Regions from separate parts of the Homo sapiens genome. Here region 2 is linked to region 1. Evidence: promoter capture Hi-C in 16 types of primary human blood cells and fetal thymus (Javierre and others, 2016). All regions are on one chromosome and are shown on one strand. The core of a region is centred on a gene start or on the middle of the fragment in contact, and the rest is flanking DNA. Distances in the headings are between cores, read along the strand shown. Region 1 holds the start of TRIM52 (tripartite motif containing 52). Region 2 overlaps MGAT1 (alpha-1,3-mannosyl-glycoprotein 2-beta-N-acetylglucosaminyltransferase).

Region 1 (4,777 bases), core at 706-3,205:
GGGAGGATCACTTGAGTCCAGGAGTTTGAGGTGGTAGGGTGCAATAATCGTGACTATAAATAGCCACGGCACTTTAGCCTGGGCAACATGACGAAACCCTGTCTCTATAAAAAAATAAAGAAATTAGCCTGGAGTGGTGGTGCATGCCTGTGTTCCCAGCTATTCCAGAAGCTGAAGTGGGAGGACTGCTTGAGCCCAGGAGGTGGAGATTGCTGTGGGCCCAGATCGTGCCACTGCAGGGGGCTACAGGAGTCTAAAAGGGAGGGGACACAATTTCCCCAAATCTCCAATGTTGAGGAGTTCTGCCTACACTCCTTGCCCCAGGATGCCCCCAGCACCAAGGCCAAGAGGGTGTCTTGGCCCTCAGCACTGGGGTAGAACATCTGTACACAGAACCAGGCCACAGGAGAAGGCATACACAGAGCCCATGAGCACCAGCCCCTCTGAGCTGCGTCCAGCCCCCATCTCCATCCTCTGTTCTCTGGGACTACAAATCCAGGCCTGACCTGGTTCTATCCCTACCTGCAGAGACAGAAGACAGAAGGAGACAACCCCTGAGAAGCCTTTCCCCAGGGCCTGATTCCCCCTCCCACTGTAAGATCTCTCAGCCCGCACTTTGGGAGGCCGAGGTGGGCGGATCACGAGGTCAGGAAATCGAGACCATCCTGGCTAACAGGGTGAAACCCCGTTTCTACTAAAAATACAAAAAAAAAAAAATTAGCCGGGCGTGGTGGCGGGCGCCTGTAGTCCCAGCTACTCGGGAGGCTGAGGCAGGAGAGTGGCGTGAACCTGGGAGGCGGAGCTTGCAGTGAGCCGAGATCGCGCCACTGCACTGCATCCTGGGCAACAGCCAGACTCCATCTCAAAAAAAAAAAAAAAAAAAAAAACCTCTCAGCCCTGGATCAGGTCCCCTCTCCAGGAAAGGTGACAGAGTGGAGTCTAAATGACACTGCCCTAGGGCCCCGCTGGGGTGGAAAACAGACCCAGACAGCGCCCCCAGCCCTCCCTCCCCAGGGAGGAGTGAAGGGCATAACAGACAGCGGAGGACACCGGGACAGGAAGGAGGGGCCAGCCGCTCTCAAACTAAGTCTAAACCACGGCGGTGAGGAAGTGTGGTCCCAAATCCAGCCCCCTCCCGGCCGAGCTCACAGAGCTCAGGGCTGGAACTCGGAACCCTGGCCCGACGCAGGCGGCAGCACCGAAGGGAACTTGAGCCCCGGCCCCCTCAGGGGACCCACGACCGGGGCGCAGCTTTGCTGGCAGACGCCGCAATACTGCGCAGCCGCGGCCCCGCAAGCAGAAACAGGGCTGGGTCTGAGGCCTACGTGGAGCTGGGGCCCGACGGCTCACGGAAGGCAGCGGGGGGCACTGGGCGCCCCGGATCCGAGCCTCCCGGGCGGCAGGCCCTCCCAGCTGTGCGGCGCCCGGATCCCCACAAAGGCACCCCAAGCGCGGACGGCGGGACGGGCGACAGCACCAGGGTGGTGTCCCAGGCTTCCCCACCGCCGCGGACCAACTCGGCCCCGGCCCGGGCGGGGCTTCCGGAGAGATTTATCCCCCTTCCCTCTAACCTTCCTGGGGCTCCGGCTCAGGCTGGACAACGGCTCGGAGACCCAGTCCCCCTCAAGTGTTGACCCCCCCACCATCTAGAACCAGCCAACCCACCAAACCACCTCTCCCAAGCCGGGCCTCTTCCCGGCGTCCGCCGCTGACCTGATCAGAGCCGCTCTGCCGGCCCGAGGGAGCTGAGAAGGGGCTTGGGAATGGGGTCTTGAGGAGGGGCTGGCCGGAATGTGCAGCACTAGCCCAGCTGGAGCGGGCGGCGCGGGCGCGCCTGTCCCCCAGCCCACCCAACTCCCGGCCCGCGCGGCCCCCGGCACACCATAGAGACGTGGTCCTCCGCCGGCCTAGAGCGTCTCTCCAGAGCGTGTGCAGGAGCGAGACGTCATTTTGCGTCGCCTCGGGCAGGGTAGCCAGCGGCTGCATCTGAGGCGGACGCCGCAGTGTAGGGCACACCCTGAGGGTAGCGAGAGACGTGACAGGACCGAGCAGCTGGGGGCTGCAGCCTGCTCTGTCCCCACCGATCCCAGAGAGAGGCTGTGAGTCTGGATCTGGGCGTTCGCACCCTGAGAGAGGGGGTCAAAGCTCCCCTGCGGCCCCGAGGAAGAAGAGCAAGGTTGAGGACAGCCTCGGGTCACCAGAGTAGTTTGGAGGCAGGCCTGCAGGCGCGTCCCCGCTCCTCAGCTCCAAGCTGACGTATCTACACCTGCCGGCGGGCATTAAGATGGCTGGTTATGCCACTACTCCCAGCCCCATGCAGACCCTTCAGGAGGAAGCGGTGTGTGCCATCTGCTTGGATTACTTCAAGGACCCCGTGTCCATCAGCTGTGGGCACAACTTCTGCCGAGGGTGTGTGACCCAGCTGTGGAGTAAGGAGGACGAGGAGGACCAGAACGAGGAGGAAGATGAATGGGAGGAGGAGGAGGACGAGGAAGCGGTGGGGGCCATGGATGGATGGGACGGCTCCATTCGAGAGGTGTTGTATCGGGGGAATGCTGACGAAGAGTTGTTCCAAGACCAAGATGACGATGAACTCTGGCTCGGTGACAGTGGTATAACTAATTGGGACAACGTAGACTATATGTGGGACGAGGAGGAAGAAGAAGAAGAGGAAGATCAGGACTATTACCTAGGAGGCTTGAGACCTGACCTGAGAATTGATGTCTACCGAGAAGAAGAAATACTGGAAGCATACGATGAGGACGAAGATGAAGAGCTGTATCCTGACATCCACCCGCCTCCTTCCTTGCCCCTTCCAGGGCAGTTCACCTGCCCCCAGTGCCGAAAGAGCTTTACACGTCGCAGCTTTCGTCCCAACTTGCAGCTGGCCAACATGGTCCAGATAATTCGCCAGATGTGCCCCACTCCTTATCGGGGAAACCGGAGTAATGATCAGGGCATGTGCTTTAAACACCAGGAAGCCCTGAAACTCTTCTGTGAGGTGGACAAAGAGGCCATCTGTGTGGTGTGCCGAGAATCCAGGAGCCACAAACAGCACAGCGTGCTGCCTTTGGAGGAGGTGGTGCAGGAGTACCAGGTGAGAGAAATGAGGGAATGTGGGGGGATGAAGGGAGTGGAAAGGTAACTAGGAGAGCTGAGGAATGAGTAGCATTCCTTTCCCACCTCCTCAGGTACTTAGTTGCTAAACTTCTCTTTATTTGATGAGGGAGACACGGTGGAGAGAGATGGTCATATGGGTAAAAAAGGAGACACAAAACCATGAAGATTGGGGCAGATTGGCTTCCCCAGAGGAAGCTGAACAGATAATATGACGGTCACTGGAAGCGGACCACTACTGCTAATACTGGCAGTCTACCTAAGTGTAAGGGACGTGAGTAACAGATACCCAGTACTTCATTTCTCCCTAATGTGAGTCCTTGACCAATTCCCTGGGACAGGTACAGATAGGAATAGAAAGCCACAGTACTTGGAGATAATAGACATTTGGGACCTCAGCACAAGCAGTGTCAAAATAGATGTATTGGTAGACAGAAATGCCAGATGTGAGTCCTAAACTACTGATAGCAATTGGCCACACCCCCCCTCTGAAAGTCTGGGATTGCATCTCTACCTTCAGTGGGGTCCGTTTTCCTTCTAGAGAAAGGCAAAGCATATAAGCATCTTTGATGGATCAGAATGTGCCTCATATCCTGATCACTTTTCTTTCCTGGTATTTTATCATAGTGGAAGGAGTGCGGGATTTAGGATCAGATGACCTGGCTCTGCCACTTACTGTCTAGTCTTGGGCAGGTGTCAACCTCCTTGAGCTTCACTTTTTCCCTAGGATTGTAAGGATTAAAAGAGATCATATATGTTAACCATAAAGCACTAAACAAATGTTTGCTGTTTTATTTGGCTTTCTTGTAACTTGTCTTCCCTTGTTTGGGTGCTGATATGGTTAATGCCTTGCTTTCTAGTCTTGACTTCTAAGCATTAGATAATTGTCTCAATGACAATGAGCATGAGTACCATCTTCCTTACCAAAAGTCTAGGTAGATTTGACTCCTAGCAGTGCCCAAACGAAGGAGAGGTTGTCTTCAGGCCCATAAAGGTTGACCTGGATATGCAGCAGCCGCTGCTCACGTCTTAGTAGTGCTTTACAGTTTATAAAATATATTTCCTCGTGTTCTCCTATAGCAGTGGTTTTCAAATTGTTTTTTGACCAATTAGTGTGTCTTAAAATAAATGGGTCATGCCTAGCATTATCTCAAAATGAAGTAAGAGAAAATATTAGAACACATGGAACATAGTAAGGGTAAGTACTGCTTTATGAAACTTTTAAGTTATATATATATACATGTATATACTTCATCTAAAAATATATTGCTTTCTTTGAGTTGCAGTCAAAACACAAACACAGAGCACTGTCCTACAGGCTTCATGTATTAGATATTATTATCACCCCCCTGCCCCCATTTTATAGCAAATATTGGGAAGTGCACAGTTAAGGCACAAATCTAACCATAAGTCACTGCTACCTCTGTTACATTAACCTGACTTGAAGGACAAATCCTAGTACCATGTTTTCACCCAAGGTGATAACTAAAGTATCCCATGGAAAAAACTTATGTCCTATGCTTCTGGGTTTTAGTATACTGAAGCTGAGGAAAAGAGAGAACCTTCCATTTCTCTTCTAACTTTTTTTTTTGAGACGGTATCTTGCTCTGTTGCCCAGGCAGAAGTGCAATGGCATGATCTCGGCTCACTGCAACCTCCG
Region 2 (5,119 bases), core at 1,280-3,779, 480 kb after region 1:
AAGGAAGAAGGTAAAGGGTGGATGGCAGCTGCCTCCTCCTCTCTTGGAAGCTCACAGAGCGCTGGGTCACAATTCCCTGGGTAGAACTGGATCACACAGGCACCCCTGTCAGCAAAAGAGGCTGGAAAAAGTATTTCTGAAGCTGAATCAAATTAAGATTCCTGTTACTAAGAAGGGAGTGATTGTATGGGCGACTACAGGGACCACGGCCATACACGGTGCCTGGAAGACCAAGCTTGTGACAGTGACGAGGATTTGGAGAGGGCAGGGTGATGGGGAGCTTTGGGGGGAGTGCATTAGGAACCCTGACCTGGAGAGGGGCAGAATGAAACCTGCGGGCCCCTAACCCTAGTGGGTTGTTTGAGAAACCTGTCCTACTGTGGCAGGGGGCTGAGTCTTCTCAGGGTCATGCATGAAAACTGAAATTCCTGAAGGCCACACACAGCCCCGGAAGTGCTGACTGACAAGGGCACATGCCAGTGATGCAGTTTTCTTTTTTGTCTTCACTTTTGTTGTTCCGCCGTCTTCAACACATGGCTCCCAGCTCACAGCAAATGCTGCCCTGGTTCAGCTACCAGGAAGCAGGAGAGGGGAAGGGAGGGCAAGCCTCATTCTTTATGGAACAAAAGCAGTGGGCAGACAGCCTTCCCTCACGTTCCACTCACTGGAATGTGGTCTGGCTGCCTTCCCTGCAGGAGGTGGGATGCACCCTCAGTGCAGCAGCCCTGCCCCAGCCAAAAACGTCTCAGCACAGCTGTAAGAAGAGGAAGATGGCTAGAGACAGGCAGCCTTCCCTGCAAGGGCAATGAGGCAAGCCTGCCAAAAGCCTCCTTTGGAAATACTGTTTGATTACTTTTCAGAGTTTCTATTTAGGAAAAGGGCAAAACCTTTCAGGATCAGGAGTAGGTGAGCGGCGATCAGGCCTCACTCTTCACCGAGGGCCTTCCCTGAGGAGGGGCCTGCAGGACGCTGGCAGCGGAATGGGGCTGTGTGGCTGCTAGATTAGGTCATGGCAGGGAGACAGCCTCTTCCTGGTTCTTGCTAGAACAGGCACACTTGGGGCCTTGAGCTCCAGGGAGTTCATGGAAGACATCTGACTACCCTGAGCCCCTTGCTGGAGGGTTCTGGGGAGTGGCCCACGGCCACCGTCACCCATGGCCACCGTCACCCACAGGGGCCGTGAGGACATCCCTGGCCAGCATCTAACACAACCACATGGGATGCCCTAAGCAACTACTGCCCAGCCGAGGGCTGCCTGAATTTCTGACTCACAAATGGTGGGCAATGTGAAACGGGTATTTTAAGCTGCTGAGTTCTGCGGGAGTTTGCTGAGCAACAGTAGAAACCAGAACTCTCGGATACTGTGTTCTGTCCTTGAAACGGTGGAAGATTTTATGTGACCAGAATGGAATGTTTGAACAAATATTTTGAGAATAGAATTTTAAAACATTTACTCATCAGCATCCAAGGGTGGGGAGCAGTGTCATCTAGGAGACTGGTTCTATTATTTACGTAGATGTTCTTGAATTAAAGGATGGGAATATTTTTTCCTTCCAAAACTTTTTTTCAATTTTATATTCTGTTTTTCAAGTTTTTATTATGAAAATATTCAAACTCACAGGGAAGTTGAAAGACTAATACAAAGAAGAACCATACTCTTTCCACTGACATGATCCAACGAGGAATATTTTGCCACACGGCAAATATATACCGTATAATTTTCTGTACCACTTGATAGAAAGGTAAAGAATGAATATTGTTTTTTAAATAACTTTTTTCGTATATAAGTAATATGTGCTTATCGTGTAACTACCTAAAAACATTGAAAAATAAAAGGAAAATAAAATTCATACATAACCGCCCTGCCCAGATTAACTATCTTTGGTTCTTGGCTTGCTGAGCAAGCTTCTGACCTGAACTTGGTCTTCATTGGGCACGGCTGCCCTCTACTGACAGCTGGGAGTCCTCGGCCTCCTTATGAATGAATCAAGCCAGTTGGTTCTGAAACTGCAGAACAGAGCCTGATGGCCTCATACCTGGGTTTTTAAAAATCAAAATCTGGCCGGGTGCGGTGGCTCTCGCCTGTAATCCCAGCACTTTGGGAGGCTGAGGTGGGTGGATCACGAGGTCAGGAGATCGAGACCATCCTGGCTAACACGGTGAAACCCCGTCTCTACTAAAAATACAAAAAATTAGCTGGTCGTGGTGAAGGGCGCCTGTAGTCCCAGCTACTCGGGGGGCTGAGGCAGGAGAATGGGTGAACCCGGGAGGCGGAGCTTGCAGTGAGCCGAGATCACACCGCTGCACTCCAGCCTGGGAGACAGTGCGAGACTCCTCTCAAAAAAAAAAAATCAAAATCTTGGGTGAGGCCTCACCTGAAATATCAAGTGTGACTTCCCTGTCCTTGTCATATTGCTCCCTTGAATTGGAGCCTGCCCTGATGCCCGCCTGGCTCCAGGCCAAGCCCTAGCAGTTCTCCACCCCAGTTAGACAGCATGCAGCTGTGGTTCCAACGCCCCTCCCTCAGCTGAACCGATGCCCCTGATTCTCCCTAAATTCTCCTTTGTCCTTCAGTTCATCTTTCTTGTCCTTTTGCTCCAATCACATAGTGTGAGGGAAGACTCTCCTGAAACCATGTTTTCCCTCCGCTCTCACACTGCAACAATCATCTACACAGAAGAAGACTTCTGTGACCAAACGTGTGGGGACCTCTCCCCACTCCCAAGCGGTGGACGTCAGCCAGGTGTCCTCCAATCAGTTCCAACCCTGTCTACCTGGAGATAGTGCCAGATCCCACAGGTTGAGGGCTCCATCCCCAAGACTCATCCTTGCCCCACCCCACCAATCGAATGTTGGGGCCTCCAGAACTTCTGACCAACTGGGTTCAAGTTGGGGTTCCCACAACCCCCTCTTTGAGTTTGATTAATCTGGGGGAGTTGCTCACAGAGAATCAGTTTACTAAGAAGGATATTTTAAAGGATATGGATAATTAGCCAGACGAAGAGGTACATAGGGTGAGGCCTGGAAGCACAGGAGCTTCTGTTGCCGTGGAGCTGGGGTGCCCCACCCTCCCGGCATGTGGACGAGTTCTTCACCCTCCTGTCGGCCTCCACGTGTTCGGCCCAGTCCCCTTGGTTTTTTATGGAAGCTTCATGACTTTAGCATTCCTTCCCCCAGGGTATAGGATGGGACCCTCTCATGGGAGGGCCTTGAGTCCTGCCTCAGGGCAGTGGAAGGTCAGAGTCCTGCCCCTGAGGCCTGACTCACCCAACACTGTAACAAAAGACTGTAACAAGGGCTGTGGGAATTATGAGCCAGGAACCCTGGGTTGAAAACCAATACATAAACCAATATACGTACACATATTGTGAAGAGAAAATACAACTTGGGACCTCAAAATCACTAAGCCGAAGGGACAGATCAAGCTGGGAACTGTGTCACACAAACCTGCCTTCCATTCACAAATAAAAAAGCTACATGCCTCCCTCACAATTTGCCCTTGTGGGCAAGATCTTTACCCTAAAAGTGTTCTGTTGAATTCCACCCTGACAATGTAAATTGATAGTCTATCTTCGCAGTGATGGGACAAAGGAAAGAACTCAGCCATTTCTTTGCTCACCTGAGACAAATGCATATGTGATTGCTTCCTCTGCCCTACTTTATCTTATGTGAAAGTGCAGATTCACCCCAGCTAGCTGACTATTCCTTTGCCTCCCTTACATGTGGACGGCTGATCAAAGGCTCAAAAGAAGGCAACCACTTGCCTTTTATCTACCCACACCTTTTAAAAATGTCTTCCTCTTTCTGCAATACCTGCCCTTTTTCCTTTAAATATTGAAGCCCTCAAAATCATCTTTGGAGAAAGGCACAGACTTGGGTCCTGGGTGCATGTCCTTAACATTGGCAAAATAAACTTCTAAATTGACTGAGCTCTGTCTCAGATACTGTTTGGTTTACATGGTAACCATGAAGGGATTCTGAGTGGAGCTACCCCTGACCTTTGGCAAATCTCCTACGGGTACTTGGTGCCAGCTTGAGCTACCTTTATTGCTCAAATCAGTTGGACAATTTGCTGAGCCCTGGGAGCTCCTGTCTCCAGAGAATCCCTGATCTTCCAAAATCTGGTTGAGGTTTAAGGATTATTCTGCTGTGAAACTCTTTTTCTGGAGTTTTATTCACTTTCAACAAGGAGGGAGAGTTTTCCTGCTTCCATGATAATGGGGTGCAGGCAACTCCTTTGTGGAATTTCAGCCCACTTCCAACAGGGAAAGCAAGTTTGAGTTTTTTCCTACTTCTAGGATAGTAGTGTAGCAGGACCAGCCGCAGACAAAACTCCTCAGACACCGAGTTAAAGAAGGAAGGGGTTTATTCAGCCAGGAGCATTGGCAAGACTCCTGTCTGAAGAGCTGAGCTCCCCTAGTGAGCAATTCTTGTCCCTTTTAAGGGCTCACAACTCTAAGGGGGTCCACGTGAGAGGGTCGTGATCGATTGTGCAACCAGCGGGTACACGACTGGGGGCTGCATGCACCGGTAATCAGATTGGAACAGAACAGGACAAGGGTTTTCACAGTGCTTTTCCATACAATGTCTGGAATCTACAGATAACATAATCGAGTAGGCCGGGGCTCGATCTTTAACTACCAGGCCCGGGGTGTGGCGCCGGGCTGTCTGCTTGTGGATTTCATTTCTGCCTTTTCATTTTTACTTCTTCTTTCTTTGGAGGCAGAAATTGGGCATGAGACAATATGAGGGGTGGTCTTCTCCCTCAGTAGAGCACAGTCTTTAGCCAGGTCTCATTCCTAGGTAAGTAGCTGAATGGGGGTTTTGTCTTGGAAATTCTCCTTAATCACTAAAGTTAAGATGAACAACCAGTTGGTCTTAATTCCTCCTTACCATTAGAGTGCTCAGTAATAATATAAATTGTGTGATCATTTGTTTGTTTTGATTAACTGCTTTTTAAAAATTTGTTAGTTTCTGTTTTTGTTGTTTTGGTCTCTTTCCCATTAGGTTTGACCAACTCTACCCGACTTGATCAAATCCAGAGAAAAGTTCCAAATTATGGGGAACAAGGCCTCTGGATTGGCTAAATTCCCTCAGCTGAAAAAAAGGAAAAAGAAAA

Evidence for each region. Contacts are between HindIII fragments. The CHiCAGO score rates a contact against its expected background, and 5 or more counts as called.
Region 2: a contact is called between a fragment that was not itself captured here and the fragment with the promoter of TRIM52 in region 1, in 2 of 17 cell types (naive B cells and total B cells). The highest score is 7.0, in naive B cells.

Annotation. Positions count from the first base shown.
Region 1 is chr5:181,258,321-181,263,097 of GRCh38, reverse strand. It overlaps TRIM52 (tripartite motif containing 52), which reads left to right and starts at 1,955. Exons shown (of 2, transcript NM_001346048.2): 1 at 1,955-3,097. The coding sequence starts at 2,285. It overlaps TRIM52-AS1 (TRIM52 antisense RNA 1), which reads right to left and starts at 1,886. Exons shown (of 3, transcript NR_102762.1): 1 at 1,714-1,886. RefSeq lists silencers at 1,325-1,574, 1,685-1,834 and enhancers at 1,975-2,024, 2,205-2,254. The HindIII fragment of the contact is 14,499 bases long and covers 1-4,777 here.
Region 2 is chr5:180,781,520-180,786,638 of GRCh38, reverse strand. It overlaps MGAT1 (alpha-1,3-mannosyl-glycoprotein 2-beta-N-acetylglucosaminyltransferase), which reads left to right. Exons shown (of 2, transcript NM_002406.4): 2 at 1-1,859. Among named protein-coding and RNA genes, the nearest start is that of MGAT1, 19 kb to the left of the region's middle. RefSeq lists enhancers at 1-692, 693-1,604. The HindIII fragment of the contact is 1,243 bases long and covers 1,908-3,150 here.